Linked DNA regions of Homo sapiens: region 1 is linked to region 2. The links are contacts of gene promoters, found by promoter capture Hi-C in blood cells and fetal thymus (Javierre and others, 2016). All regions are on one chromosome and are shown on one strand. The core of a region is centred on a gene start or on the middle of the fragment in contact, and the rest is flanking DNA. Distances in the headings are between cores, read along the strand shown.

Evidence for each region. The method cuts DNA at HindIII sites, captures the fragments that hold promoters and counts their contacts. A CHiCAGO score of 5 or more calls a contact.
Region 1: a fragment that was not itself captured here is called in contact with the fragment with the promoter of WNT6 in region 2 in 1 of 17 cell types (naive B cells); the score reaches 5.1 in naive B cells.

The regions. Positions count from the first base shown.
Region 1 is chr2:219,106,518-219,109,925 of GRCh38, forward strand. All of the region lies in intron 5 of NHEJ1 (non-homologous end joining factor 1), which reads right to left. Among named protein-coding and RNA genes, the nearest start is that of IHH, 47 kb to the left of the region's middle. The HindIII fragment of the contact is 1,789 bases long and covers 563-2,351 here.
Region 2 is chr2:218,858,049-218,861,393 of GRCh38, forward strand. It overlaps WNT6 (Wnt family member 6), which reads left to right and starts at 1,757. Exons shown (of 4, transcript NM_006522.4): 1 at 1,757-2,069. The coding sequence starts at 1,990. The HindIII fragment of the contact is 26,174 bases long and covers 1-3,345 here.

The DNA of each region.
Region 1 (3,408 bases), core at 207-2,706, 250 kb after region 2:
AGCCAAGCAAAAGAGACACTGCTCTCCTTGGACTCAGAGAAAACAAGGCCATATACATTTTCACAGATATCTACAAGTGTTATATCCTCATCTTCAGGCATAAAGGAGGCCTACAACAGATGGATTATTGAAACCTAATACAAAGAGCCTATGCTTGGAACAGAAAGCCCTTTTACCATTATGCAAAATGTAGCGCCATACTCAATGTTATTAAACAGTGCCCAAAAAACCCACAGATTCAGACTGTGCTCATCTTCAAGAGAAGATGAGAAAAGAAAAAGTACAGACAGTCAGCAAAGCAGTGAACTGGAATCCCACAGTTTGGTAAAATGCATGAAATTTCTAACCTGTGTTCTCATTTGCTGTTTTCCATTTTACTCTAACAAAAACACCTCTCAAACTGGCATTTGCTGAAAAAATATTCATTTTTTCCTATTTCCCATTCTACTCCAAGTCGGCCTACCTGCCTTCTAGTACACTTGAGTGGGCTTCAATGGTGCCCACAACATTGATAATGAGTGCTGAGAGAGCGATATAGAAGATATGGTGTCCTGCTTCAACAAGCTTCTAATCTACTTGAAGAGAAAAAAGGTAAGTATGTGAAAACAGCAAGAAAATAACTGCAAAGAAACATATGATATATGCAAGAGAAAGGAGGATAAATGAGCTATATAACTGCTAATGATCTGTCAAATCAGGGGAAGATAACTGAACTGATCATTCAGGGAGGGCTTCCCAGCAGAAGTGAAATTTTCTTCCTGAAGAGGAAAAATAGAAATCGATTGATTGAAACCAATTTATGGTTTACAAAAGCTAGAAGGAACCTCAGGGTGTATCTGATCAAAATTGCTCGTCTGACAGATGAACCCCAGGGAGCATAATAATATGCCCAGGTGACAAATCAAAAAAGTGGAAGAACTGGAATTCAAATCAAAGTATTCTGATTTCAAAACCCAGGGCAGATGACAGGAACAAATGCAGAGAAGCAAGAAACAGCAATGTCTATCAGGAAGAAGGTAAGCAGACTGGCATCGTGGGGACAGAGGAACTGTTTCACAGAGTAAGGAGAAATAAGAAGCCCCAGGCTGCTCCCAAATAATCTTAGTTGCTCCATATGGACCCCACTTCTCTCTCTGTCTTCAGGAACATCCACCATACCTTAAATTAGTGGCATGTGCCCTGCAGGTATTTCCCATACCACATGCCCTGCTCTGGGGCCTAATCTCCCTCTAAGGGCCACAATTCTCACTCCCAGAGTCCATACTGGTTCTAAGGGCTCTAGAAGCTCCAAGATATACATATGGCAAAACTAACCAAGAAGTTACTCCACATACGAACTTCTTGTTCTGCTTACAGCCCCACCCTCCTCCCTTGCCCCACCAACACTAGGAAACCAGATGTACAAATGGTTAACAGAGAAAAAAAAAAAATCCCACCCAGACCACTTGAAACGCGGCTAGTCTGGCTGGGCTTCGAGTCCGCTCAGCGACTGCGCCATGACTGCTATTTATAGCTTCTGGGTGCCCAGCCCAGCTTCCAGGTCACTAATTGTGGCCCAGCCCCGAGCCAACCCCCACACCTCCTCCCCTGCCCTGTAACACAGGGAACAAGAAGAAAATCTAGCTTTGTCCAGCCCAGGAAGAACAGCCAGGAGTGAGATCTGAATCCAAGACCCTGTATTATATGCCTTGTGAACAGTATCAAAACTGTCAGAAGGCTCTGCCCTCCTTCCACACATCTTGAAGAGCTGAGTGTCCGTCCTTCCACAGCAGCCTCCTTTCCTGAATTCTCTAAGTTCATCCAGAGTTGAATCCTGAGTTCAGTCTAATCCATCCAAATGCTAGAGAGTGAAAGATAGGTTTTGGCTATCAAGGACACCAGCCAACAGTTAAGTAAAGAGCCTATGTCTTTGAGCAAGCATCTAAGCACCCTTGGATTCATGTGTTTGCCTTTTCCTAGGGTCTATTTGTTAGATTATCTGTCCATTTATTTGTGTTACTACTCTAGTCATCCACAAAAAAGTACCCAGGCAGGAGGCACGCTCAGAACTAAACTTCTAAAAATTCTTTTCTAGCACTTACCAAATACATTTTAAGTTCCACATATTCTTAGTTTCAGACAGAGGACCTGAATAAGATAGTTTTATGAGAGTGCTATAAATAATCCCTTCTGATTCCAAGATGCTATTATTTGAGTATTATTCTATAATACTGTTTTCCCCCTAGAGATACAGATTACTGAGATGGGCAATGACCCTTTTTTGGCATATGAGGCTTTGTGAAGTTATCCTGGGTGGAAAAAAAAAAAGGTTTTTCTAAGGTATAAGAGTTAATGGCAAAAAGACTCAGTGAAGCTTACTCTGTTAGTTCTATACCTGTGCTACAGTGGGGAAACCACCATGGGCCACATTCCCCTGTGTATTCTACATCTGAACCCTTGTTCCCATCCCAATTAAACTTAACCACTGTCAATGACATCTATATTCAGAACAAAGGATTGGGACTAGAGATGAAAGAAGAGTTAAGAGACTTAGAATAAGAGTGAGATATCTCTTTCTTTTTCCAGTGCCCCAGCACCTAAACTATGGTTACCATTCTCAGACAGAACAACAAGCCCCCAACCCTCTACATCCTTGACTGATGCTGCCTAAGACTACACATCTCAATGCCAGTCTTTTCCTTCTCATTTTGGGGTTCATTTGGGCAACTGGATAATATGCCAGGGATTCTGGTTATTGGAGCCAGAACCAGAATGCTGCTGTGCTATCTCATCATCACTCACAAATACCAATTCCCAGCCCCAAATGGTCCCAAATCTTTCCTCCCAAGACCACAAAGGATAAAAAAAAAGTTTCCAAATTAAAAAACTAAAACTGGCAACAAAGGTGCCCCATGGCAGTAACCTTTAAAACTGGCCATTAAAGTTTATAAGTCAGACGGGCACCAACGTGAAGGATCAAGAAGAGAAAAACAGCCCCCTCCCTTGGGGACCCAGAGCCACAGCCTTCCCCCTAAAGCCACAGAGCTGATGTCACAAGAAGCACTTGCTGCATCAAGGGCTCTCTGTGTCCCAACTACAACCATTCACAATGCAGGCAGACTCTGCGTGCTGGAGGCGGGCTGGTGTCTGGCAGAGAATAAAGGAAAGGGGAGGGGCAAGGAGGCGTGGGTTGGGAGTATATATGAGGTAGGCAAAGGTGAGAAAGGAGAGAAAAACATCAAATCTCCTCCTAGCCCTCAGGACTGCCTGCAATTCACAGGCCAGGAGGAAACAGGCCCTGTCAGACTGCCTAAGATAGTGGTTCTCTTTTTCCACCTAACACATAAAAGGCATACCACAGATTTTCATCAGTAACGACAGTATATTATGCAATAATCCTTAACTATCTTGGGGTGGATAGTTTTTTGA
Region 2 (3,345 bases), core at 507-3,006:
ATTGACCTTTAGGAACTGTCCAGATTGGCATTGCCCCGTAGAAACAGCAACTGTGTGCAAAGTTACTAGGTGCAGGGGCTGTGCGTGGCCTTTGGATACTGTTAAAGGCTAAAATGGGAGAGGGCAGTGCTTAGACCAGACCCTCTCTCTATGACTCTTGCCACTGCCCCCTGCCCCCTTCCCCTTCTTTAGTGTGTCCTAGCCCTTTCACCAGAACTCTCTGTATCCAGTGCAAGGGATTGAGCTGATGCAGCCTGGACACCAGGGCCCTGACATGGAGCTTGCTTGCCGGCAAGTCCACACTTCTCCAGTTCTCTCACCTCTGTCTGCTCATTCCTTCCCCCATCAGCCTCCTCCCCTGGGGTCACATCCCTTGGCCCCTTGGCCTCATCTTGATCTACTTGTCCCCCCTCTCTGGGTGACTCAGGATCTTGTCTTCTCTCTCTGCTCACCAAGGTTGTTTGGAAGTGACCTCAGTCATCACTCTCTTGGAAGCGACCTCAGTCCCCACATTCAGGTCCCCCTCTCTACCAACAACCAGGAGCTTTCTTCTGGGCGCCTGACGTTTCTGCCATAGGGACTCGATCTGTCCTCCCCACTCCAGGACAGCTTTAAAGGTTGATGGTTGCTCTTGATGGTATGGCAGGGAGAATGTCCCACACCACCTGTCCCTTGGCACCCCGGGGCACGTCGGGGACGGGAGGGGCAGGGGCTGCTGCCCACTGCCAGCCGAATGGCATGATGAATGGAGCTGTCCCTCTTCCCCACGGAGCCTTTGATCTCCCCCTCGTGGGGAGGGGGCCAGGGGCATCAAAGACATTTTTGTGGCATTAGAAAATCTGATAAACGCCATCTCACCTGCAGCTGGCTCTCCCACCCCTTCTACCCGGGCCAGGTTGGGGGAGGAACTCGAGGCAGGGACTCTTGGACACGCGAGGCCGGGCTAAAGCGAATTCTGACCCCTCGATCTCTTGAAAGTCTGCGACCTCCATTCTCCCGCTCGCTTACAAGTGCCAGCGCTTGCGCGCACGCCCTGGAGCGGCTACTCTTGCCCTCTCATTTCCCCCACCTCCCCGCCCTAGAACGCGGGCTTGAGAGGTGGGATGGCTGGGGGAGCGAGAGCGGAGGCCCAGGGCTTCCTCCCTTCTTCAAGGAGAGGCTGACGAAGGGGCATGAGGCATCGAACAGGGACACGGAAAGAGATGACCCCTCCAGCATCCGCCTGTCGGGCGGTCCAGTTTGACAACCCTCGCCGAAGCACCCCGCGCCCCAGGCCAACTTCCTCTCTTGCCTCCGCGCCAGCATCTCCCTCCGCACCGCCCCCCGCCCCAAACTCCCTCATTCCTGGGAAGTTTTCTCTCTTTACAGTCAACAAACCTGTCAAACGTCTCCCTTCCAGCCCGTCCCCCATTCCTCAGCTCCTCTTTCTCCCCCCTCACCCCTCTCTACTCTTCTTCCCAGCCCTTCCTTGCCCCCGACTCCAGGCGGCCGCGAGCGGCGGGGGGCTCCAAGTCCGAGAGAGGCGAGGCGAGGGGGCGAAGCGGGCGGGTCCCACAGCCCGAAGCGCGCTGGGGCCCCGCCCCGGCACCCCGCTCCCGCCCTCCGCTGCGCTCCGCGCCAGCCGCCCCGGGGCGCACGGCTCGCTCCCGAGAGTCCCGCTGCCTGACTGTCGCAACTGCCACCTCCCTCCGGCCCCCTGCCCCCCGCCCCCGCCTCGGCCCCGCTCCCCTCCCACCTCCGCCCCCGGCTCTGATTTCTTCTCCCGAGCGAGCTCCGCAGGAGACACAGGCGCTGGCTGCCCCGTCCGCTCTCCGCCTCCGCCGCGCCCTCCTCGCCCGGGATGGGCCCCCCCGCCGCCGCCGGATCCCTCGCCTCCCGGCCGCCGCCGTTGCGCTCGCCGCGCTCGCACTGAAGCCCGGGCCCTCGCGCGCCGCGGTTCGCCCCGCAGCCTCGCCCCCTGCCCACCCGGGCGGCCGTAGGGCGGTCACGATGCTGCCGCCCTTACCCTCCCGCCTCGGGCTGCTGCTGCTGCTGCTCCTGTGCCCGGCGCACGTCGGCGGACTGTGGTGGTGAGTCCGGCTGTCCTGGCGCGGCTCTGGACCCTGGAGGGTGGGGACCCCGGGACCCAGGACAGACTGGGGTGTTCCGCAGCCTCCCGGCTCTACCTGCTCTCCGAGCCCAGCTTTCTGGCCTCGGCCGGGGGCGTTTCTGAACTCCACTTCGACGTTCCTAACCCTCGGGAACATTCTATTGTGTTTCCTCCTCCCGGGTTCTCTCCCACCCCCCGCCAAGTTATGCGCTCACCCAGCTCACCAAGGAACAGGCGAGTGGGTAGGAAAGATCTTTCGGGAAGACACATATCCGAGGAAAAGAATGTGTGAGGAGGGCCCTGGATTCAGGGTATGGGGCTGGATTTGGAGAAGACAGGAACAAGGTGGGAAGCCACAAGGCAGAGAGGGCCACACAGCTGCCCCTTCCCCGCCCTGCTTTGCCTACCAACCCACCGGCTTCTCTCTGGGCTCCTGAGGAGTGGGCCTTAGTGACGACAGAGGGAATATAAAGGGGAAAGTGAGTCAGGACCCTGGTTTTCTCTACCTCGTCCTCCCCAAGCAAGGAAAAGGAGGAGCGGAAGGAACCGGACCCAGGCGCCCGGCCCTTCCAGACCTGGGGGTCATGAATGAAAAAATATGTGCAGCCCGGGAGATACGGGACCGGGAGGGGTCCTGCGGGAAGGGAGAGGGGCCTGGCCAGCCAAGGGAAGGGGGCGTCTTCCCAGGCTTGGCCCTAGCTAGAAGGGACACCTAGGCAGCGAAGGTTGCGGGAGCTTCGAGCCTTGGGGGTGGGGGTGGGGCCGGGGCGGGGAAGGAGGGTGCCCGACCGGGACGGCTCAGAGATCCAGATCCAAAGGACTTTTTTCCCCCTAGGTCTCCAGAGCCGCAAACCCTCGCCCGGAATAGCTCAGTGTTTAGAGAGGAGAGACTTGGACAATAACGCTGACGGGTTAGCCAATCCTAAGAAGGCAGGGTCGTGTCTATTTGCATATTGCCATGTGATTGGCTGGATGCCGACCCTCCGCTCCTCCCTCGCCCCCCAGATTTGGAAGAGAGGCAGATCCCCGTGCTCTGGAGAGATAGGGAGTAGGATGCCCACACAGGGAGTGGCGGGCAGCAATCCCTACTCCGTGATGCGGAGAGCCGTCCGACGCTAGTGTCACGGAAAGGGCGAACCGAGGACGACCCAGGTCCTATCTAGGGAACATATGCCCTTTGATCCGGCTTAGTATAATGCAGTGGCAGCTTTGAAGCAGATAGATCTAAGATCTAAACATTATGTTTGTGATCTTGG